Regions from separate parts of the Homo sapiens genome. Here region 2 is linked to region 1. The links are contacts of gene promoters, found by promoter capture Hi-C in blood cells and fetal thymus (Javierre and others, 2016). All regions are on one chromosome and are shown on one strand. The core of a region is centred on a gene start or on the middle of the fragment in contact, and the rest is flanking DNA. Distances in the headings are between cores, read along the strand shown.

Evidence for each region. The method cuts DNA at HindIII sites, captures the fragments that hold promoters and counts their contacts. A CHiCAGO score of 5 or more calls a contact.
Region 2: a fragment that was not itself captured here is called in contact with the fragment with the promoter of RCBTB1 in region 1 in 5 of 17 cell types (endothelial precursors, megakaryocytes, total CD8 T cells and 2 more); the score reaches 8.7 in endothelial precursors.

The regions. Positions count from the first base shown.
Region 1 is chr13:49,584,176-49,588,631 of GRCh38, reverse strand. RCBTB1 (RCC1 and BTB domain containing protein 1) reads left to right here and starts at 3,074. Exons shown (of 13, transcript NM_018191.4): 1 at 3,074-3,188. RefSeq lists a silencer at 2,841-3,550. The HindIII fragment of the contact is 4,185 bases long and covers 275-4,456 here.
Region 2 is chr13:49,310,031-49,314,130 of GRCh38, reverse strand. It overlaps CAB39L (calcium binding protein 39 like), which reads left to right. Exons shown (of 11, transcript NM_001079670.3): 11 at 3,138-4,100. The coding sequence ends at 3,317. Among named protein-coding and RNA genes, the nearest start is that of CDADC1, 64 kb to the right of the region's middle. RefSeq lists an enhancer at 1-174. The HindIII fragment of the contact is 1,448 bases long and covers 955-2,402 here.

The DNA.
Region 1 (4,456 bases), core at 1,825-4,324:
CAGGCTGGCCAACATGGCAAACCCCGTCTCCACAGAAAATATAAATTAGCCCAGCCTGATGGCCCTCACCTGTGGTCCTAGCTACTCAGGAGGCTGAGGTGCTGAGGTGGGAAGATCACTTGAGCCCATGGAGGTTGAAGCTGCAGTGAGTTATGATCATGCCACTGCAGTACAGCTTGAGCAACAGAGCAAGACGCTGTCTCAAAAAATAAAAAAAATCATCTTCTTTGGAACAAGTAATTTTGGTATTTTTACATAATAATCATAGAAAGCTTTTGAGGCTGGAAAAAAAGGTAAAAAATCACCTCGCGTTAGTCCAAGCCAGTTTTATTCTTATTTATTTATAGGGACAGCGTCTTGCTATGTTGTCCAGGCTGGTCTTGAACTCCTGGGCTCAAGCAATCCACCTACCTTGGCCTCCCAAAGCATTGGGATTATAGGCGTGACCCACTGTGCCTGGCCTAGGCCAATTTTAGATGCAGAGCCTATGATGTGCCTGATAGAAAGTTATTCAATACAATAAATAACACCAATACCAGTAAATATGTCATTCTTTCAAGTATATTAAAATTAACCTAATTTGGTTTCCTTTATCCTAGATGTGAATGAAGTCATCAAGGCATCAATATAGGGTTACTTGTTTTTGTTTTTTTGAGACAGAGTCTCACTCTGTCACCCAGGCTGGAATGCAGTGATGCGATCTTGGCTCACTACAACCTCTGCCTCCTGGGTTCAAGTGATTTTTGTGCCTCAGCCTCTCAAGTAGCTGGGATTACAGGCACGTGCCACCACAGCTGGCTAATTTTTGTATTTCTAGTAGAGACAGGGTTTTCCAAAGTTGGCCAGGCTGGTCTTGAACTCTTGACCTCAAGTGATTTGCCTGCCTTGGCCTGGGATTACAGGCATGAGCCACTGCACCTACCTGTTTGTTTTTTCCTAAACAAATAGTACTGTTTCATGTGTCACTACTTTTGAACACATTGCTCTCTCCTGGAATGTCTTTTTCTTTCTTCTTATCTACTTCCTGTCCAACTGACCTTCTCATGAAGTTTCTCCCTGACTCCCTGATTTGTGGTCCCTGGTTTGTGTTCACTTAGCACCTTGTATCATAATACTTTTCACCCTGTACTGGAATAATGAACCAGACTACACATTCCTTATCAGCAACCATGTCTCATTCAGCTTTTAATCCTCCAAGATGCTCCAAGTATGGCATCTGACACATAAGCAGTGAGGGCTCAGGACATATTTGATTGCTCACACCCCATGCCCTCGTTTTTCTCTCAGACATGTTTACACAAGTTCTTTTGATCGGGTTGCAACCAAAAGAAACTGATTTTAGTTTCTTTGAGCAAAACAGGCCTCTTCTAGTAAATTCACTCAACTGCCACTACTTTGGGCAAGCCACTTCATTCAGTGAGTATTAAGGGTCTATCACATGCCAGGCGCTGTTCTAAACCCAGAAGAATCCTGTTTCAAAGAGTTTATAATCTAAGGGAGAAGACAGCAATAGACAATTCACCTTTTACAGGAAATGCGCAGTCTATTTCTGGGCAGTGTGAGGTGTATCAGAATATATATAGTATTCTGGAAATCAGGGAAGAAGTTGCAGCTGACACTGTCTGGATGAACTTCAATTGCTAAAAAATCAGGGAAGAGGATGCTGGGAAGACAAGAGTAGGCGGCATTTGACCTGGATTTTGAAAGATGAGTAGGAAACTGATGTGTACTTTGGAGGCTGTTGAAGAAAACCAGAGCCAAACAGTAGTTGAAGTGGTAAAAACATTTTATTCAGGAACTAGTGCAACAGGAGCGAGACCTCAGAATAGATACAGAACTAAGCTCAATTCTCTTATTGCATTAGTTTCTTAATACCTTTTTTTTTTTTTTTAATCATTGGCCCTGGTTTTCTTTAAGTGGGGGAGGTGGTGATTCAGGACATTTCAGATACAGACAAAAGAATGAACAAAGCAAAAAGGAGTAAAGAAACTTAGAGAAAAAGTAAATAATCCAAAGAAAGTTGAGTAGTCAAGGAAAACAAATTATTTGTAGCCAGAGCCTCCAGTAATGTTGGGGAAGTGGCAAGAGATGAGGGACGGTAGGACTTTTTTAATAATTCAAGTTACCAAAAGTGAAGTTATCTGGTGATATTTAGAAAATGAAATGTTTTTCTGTTTATTCCTAGGAGCTCAAATGGGAAAGGTAAGTGAACAAGTGGCTGGAATGCTATGCCAACAAGTTTGGATTTTATCCTGCAGCGCCAACTGGGAGTTCTCCGAGAGCTGTATGGTATTTTACAAAGGGACTGTAGTCTTTATAGGTGATAGGCTGGAGCAGCTCGTAGCAGTCCCTCTCCTGGCCTCAGTTTACTCGCTGGTAACACGAATCCGGTTGGACCAGATGCCCTCTTAGGTCCCGTCTAACCTCTATGGCATGCTTCCGAGGTACCTCTGCCTCTTTCCAATACCAGGACCTGTGCCTCATCTCGTCCTTCCTTCATACCTTTGTCCAGCTGCCACCTTCCCTAGTCCCTGGCCTGCCTCAGGTACTTTCAATCAGGAAGTGAGGGGCGGGGAGGGAGGGAGGCGCGTCTCCAGTAAAAACAAACTAGTCCCAGCTCCGCCGCCTTTCCTCCCAGGCAGCACCACCTGGGTGGTGCCCCGGGGCCAGACGCGCTCTAGAGTGGGCAGGGAGCCAAGTTTCTCGGTCGCTTTTCCGTCCTAGGTCTCTGGGGTGGTAGGCCGACCCTCCCCACAGCCAAGCCATCTCGGGGAGCAGAGCAGGAGCCCGTGCCTCGCGCGTTCCTGGTTCCTCAGACACAAAAGCCTCTAAGTCCCGGCAGCAGCCACCGGATTTCATGGGGACACTCCAGTGGCAGGGCCTCGGGGCGGGCCTGAGACGGCCAATCGGCTTCTAAAGAAGTCGGGTTGTAGGGCCCGAAGAGCAGGGTTTCGGCCGGGGCCGGGGCCGGGGCGGTGCGGGATGCTCGGCTGGGTAGCGTCCCGGGCGCGCGCTGCACCGGGTCACGTGAGGCGGCCGGGGCCACGTGACCCGGCGGGCCCGGCGCCCTGGCGCTCCTCCTCTTCGCTGCCGGTGGGCACCGCCGCTCGCTCGCACTTCTGCGCCCATTGGAGCTTCGGAGATCCCTGCGGTCCCGCGGGACGGCGCGGCAGCAGCTGACCTCGCAGGTAGCGTGTGGGCGCGGGGTCGAGCTCGCGGAGGCCTCTTCCCCCTCGGCCCTGCCCCTGCTTCCCTTCCCCGCAGGCCGGGCCGGGAGTGCCCCGTTACTCCTGTACCTCCCGCCTCCCTCGCTCGGGCTCCCGGGCAGTCCCTGCGGGCGCTGCGTCCGGGGCGAGGGATGGGGTCCCCGGCCCGGCCCCGCCAGCACCTCAGCTAATGTGCTCTCCTGCGAGGAGGAGGGAAGGATGGGGAGAGGCGAGGGAAAGTTTTCCCTGCCTCCCTCTCTTTTTTGAGGTGCACGGACTCGATTTTGCTCGTAGCTGAAGTCTGACTGCTGTGGGTGCCGTTTTACTGAGAGGAGATCTCCCCTCCGACTCTTCCTATTCTCTCTCCTTTCCAAGATCTTAGCATCTCTCCTTCGTCTCCTGAGAGTAGTGCTGTCACAAACCGTATTCTTTATCGTTTCCCTTTCCGACACAGAATCCACAAAGGCAGGGATTTTGTTAGTGAGGACTTTTATCCAGGCGTGCGGTGAACTCTAAATAAGTGACGTTTCCCTTGTCTGCCTCTGATAAAGTACCTACCTGCTCGGTTTAAGATGACTATCGAGCACGCTGTGTTCTGCTCGCATAAGTGGCCTTTTGTTTTTATTTATTTGCATGTAAGACACTTTCAAGCCATCTGCGGAACTCTGCAGCTGGGGATTACAATTTTATAAAGCAGTCTTGTAATAATGCTTTTAGAAAACCAGATTCATGATCTTCCTTGCTTTTGCCCTATTCTTTTTTTGGGAGGACTAAAAGCCCTTAGAGGACAAAAACTGAGTTTCTGAAACTGGTGTGTATTGTGGGCTAATAACATTAAAACATCAAAGTATATAATGCCGGAAGGAATGGAAAAATGATTGAATCCTGAGGGCAGTTTATAGGTGCTTTAAACTTTAGAGTACTCATTTCAAGTGAGCACTGGGTGAATTTCACCCGTTTAAACTGCTTTCAGGGTCGAGGATGTAACTGTATATTTGGATTCTATTAATATAACAGTTCATCTGTGGGATGGACTTTAATCCATTTAATCCATTGTGTGAATATCAGTCTATTTATTAATACTCTAGACGGGTCCTTTTTCTTCTACCCGCTAGTCTGTTTCTCTTGAAGAGGAAGCATATTCATCTTTAAAGAGATTTTTGCAAGTGATTTTTTTAAGTGTGTGATCCAAATGATAAAGTTCTGTGAACTTCAGAAAACAAGTAGCCATAAAAACCCAAAGCTGTCAA
Region 2 (4,100 bases), core at 429-2,928, 270 kb after region 1:
GGACAATTCAGTATTCCTGGAATGCTGCTTTTCTTACCACCACGTGTAAACATTCTCTGCCTGACTCATGGACTAGCTCTCATGCCGCCCACACCATGAGCCTTCCTGTTCCAAACCCGGAAATGTAATGTCATCGCCACCTCCTGGGATGGGAGCCTCTGCAGTCTTGTATTCTCCACATTGGTACTCAACATCCTAGGGTAGTTTTCTCCTTCCCCACACTTGCTAGGGTGGAGGAACCTTAAAGGCTTAGCCATGAAACCCCCACTGCCCCATAACTAAGCCCTTTCATAGTGTGTTCCCTGTAGAGTTGGGCACTGCACAGCTATGGGACAGGGATGGGTGGGCAGAGGGGGTGCCAGGCAGAGGCAGGAGGCCAGACCATCACACCAGAGAGCTCTGTAGGGCTCAGAGACACTTTGATCTGCATTCTGGTCATGTGGTCATGTATGTAGCAGTAACTAAGGAGTGTGTCTTTTACAAAATAGTGCACCAGTCAGTATCAGATCGTGGTTTCCACCAGGAGTTCACATAAGAATCTCTGTGGAACTTCATAGAAATACAGAATGCTAGACATCCACCACAGACCTGCTGAGTTGACGTATCTGGGAGGTAGGACCTGGGCAGTTGTAATTTTTTTTTTTTTTTTTGAGACGGAGTCTCACTCTGTTGCCCAGGCTAGAGTGCAGTGGCGCGATCTCAGCTCACTGCAAGCTTCGCCTCCTGGGTTCACGCCATTCTCCTGCCACAGCCTCCCGAGTAGCTGGGACTACAGGCGCCCGCCACCACGCCTGGCTAATTTTTTGTATTTTTAGTAGAGATGGGATTTCACCGTGTTAGCCAGGATGGTCTCGATCTCCTGACTTCGTGATCCGCCCACCTCGGCCTCCCAAAGTACTAGGATTACAGGCATGAGCCACCGCGCCTGGCCCAGCAGTTGTAATTTTTAAAGCTTCACATATGTAACAAACAGTGACATTGGTGACCTCCAGGGAGGGAAGGTGAGAGGAGGACTATTCACGTTTGTCCTTTTTGAATTTTGAACTAGGTGATGATATTATGTGTTCAAAAAATAAATTATGTTTAAAAATCATAAGCTCTTTCATACTATATGTTGTTTATGTTTAAATATCTATGTAATAGGAGGATAAGGATTGAAATGTGCCCAGAGATGGTGGCACACTGCTGGAGGTGGGAGGGGAAAGGTGGAAGGTGAGGGTTTGGTTCCATTTGTAATGTTTTATTTGTTTAAAAAGAGACTCTTGAGGCACAATGGTAAAATCTATTCAATTTGTGAGGTACGTATACTGGATTTGTTATGTTATTTTCTGTTTGAAAGATTTTATAGTTAAGAACAAATATTTAAAAGTAAAACAAAGTCAAATATGAAATGTTCATAGATAGCTCCCACGTGCTCCTAGCTAGTGACTTAGGAGAGTGATAGGAAAGGTGAAGTGCAGGCCTGTGGCGCTTAACAGCAGGGAGTTGTTCTGAGAAACATGCTCACTAGGCGATGTCCTTTGTGTGGGAACATCACAGAGTGCATTTACGCAGACCTAGGTGGTGGAGCCTGCCACACACCTAGGCTATATAGTGTGGGCTATTGCGCCTAGAGCACAAACCTGTGCAGCATGTTACCATACTGAATACTGCAGGCAATTATAACCCAATGGTATTTGGGTATCTAAACATAGAAAAGATACAGTAACAAGATGGCATAAAAGAGAAAAAATGGTACACCTGTATAGGGAACTTACCATAAATGGAGCTTACAGGACTGGCAGTTGCTCTGGGGGAGTCAGGGATTGAATGGTGAGTGAATGCGAAGGCCTAGGACATTACCGTACACTACTGTAGACTTCATAAACACTGCTTAGACTACACTAAATTGATTTAAAAAATTTTTTTTCTTGTTTTAATAATAAGTTAACCTTAGGGCCAGGCATGGTGGCTCATGCCTGTAATCCCACAGCTTTGGGAGGCCAAGGTGGAAGGATTGTTTGAAACCAGGAATTCGAGACCAGCCTTGGCAGTCATAGTCAGGCCTGCCTCTACGAAAAACTTTTTAAATTAGCCAGGTGCAGTGGCATGCACTTGTAGTCCTAGCCACTGGGGAAGCTGAGGCGGGAGGATCGCTTGAGCCCAGGAGTTCCAGTCTGCAGTGAGCTCTGATAGTGCCACTGCACGTCAGCCTGGGTGACAGAGCGAGACCCTGTCTCAAAAATAAATAAATACATACATAAAAATAACCTTAGCTTACTGTAACTTTTTACTTTTATAAAAAGTTTATTTTTTAATTTTTTAAAACTTTTTTACTCTTTTGCAATAACACAGCTTAAAACAAACACATTATACAGCTGTACAAAAACATTTTCTTTCTTTATATCCTTATTCTATAAGCTTTTTCTGTGCTTAAAGTTTTTTATTTTTTACTTTTTAAACTTCTTTGTTAAAAACTAAGACATAAACACTCACATTAGCCTCGGCCTACACAGGGTCAGGATCATCAGTATCACTGCTTCCACCTCCACATCTTGTCCCCCTGGAAAGTCTGCAGGGGCCATAACACCCATGGAGGTGTCACCTCCTACGATAACAGTGCCTTCTTCTGGATACCTCCTGAGGGACCTGCCTGAGGCTGTTTTACAGTTAACTTTTTGTTTACTAAGTAGAAGGCATATACTCTAAAATAATGATTAGACGTATAGTATAGTAAATACGTAAACCAGTACCATCGTCGTTGATTATCAAGTATTATGCACTGTGCATAATTGTACGGGCTTGAATTTTATGCAGCTGGCCGGGCAGTAGGTTTGTTTACACCAGCATCACCACAGACACATGAGTAAATGCACTGACCTACGATATCACAAGGCAATGGGAATTTTTCAGCTCCATTATGGTGCTATGGGATTACAGTCGTATACATGGTCTGTTGTTGACTGAAATGTCGTTATGTGGTGTGTGACTGTATTGATCACCCTCACTGAGAATTAGAGTCAGGGGCTTCTACGCATTAATAATATCAGTCACGCATGAAACGCGAGTAGTGTGGGTGAGGTCCCTGGCCTGCACTGCTGTAGCGTGGGTGAGGTCCCTGGCTTGCACTCCTAAGTATTTGTTTCTTTTTGTTTCAGGTGTTTGTGGCCAGTCCTCACAAAACACAGCCTATTGTGGAGATCCTGTTAAAAAATCAGCCCAAACTCATTGAGTTTCTGAGCAGCTTCCAAAAAGAAAGGACGGATGATGAGCAGTTCGCTGACGAGAAGAACTACTTGATTAAACAGATCCGAGACTTGAAGAAAACGGCCCCTTGAAGAGCTCCCCGGCCCCTGTCACAGTCAGTCGTCTCATTTGTCCAGTTTGTACAGTGTGTCATTTCAGAAAGTCATCATTCTTGGGAAGACTTTGGAGGTGCCTATTTTTTCTGCTGTAATTGTTCTGGGTAGATGGAGTATAAACATTTGAATGGAAAAAAATTAACCTAGAATAATATATTCATTTTAGTCAAGTCTGTGATTATTTATGTGAAATGAGAACCATTGTATCAGATGTTGATAAAAGCAATTTTAACTTGCAGATGTGAGCCCCTGGGCACAATGAGCCGCTAAATGGGAGCTCAATTGACAGGCATCACCAAGTCTTCAAGGAGGACTGAGTTCTCAGGGGAGAACTGGGAATGGGGCCAGGGTGCAAAAATGCTTTGCCCATCTGTAGGTAGACACACAGATCGCTCAGGGCACTGAGAGATCCCAGAAGGTAACGTTAATGTTTTCAGTCATTGTGTGTCCTTTGTTGCTGCCAATGTCTTTGGACTGTAATCAGTGCATCCACACCTCCCAGGATCCAGTGCTCCCTCTCAGCTCAGTCTCCCCTCTCTCCCTGTCCTGCATTCCATCCCAGCTCCTCAGCATGGCCTCAGTGGGCGCACCCATGCCTCCCGCAGTCCAGGTGAGCAGGGGAGCAACTGAGCAGGAAGAGGATGGATCAACAAGGGTCACGGGGAATAGGGGACCCACGGGGTGTGACCTGCTTGCTAGAGAACTGTGAACATGTGGCTCTGGATAGAGTGACTGCTGCTCCATATTAGCTTCCAGAGG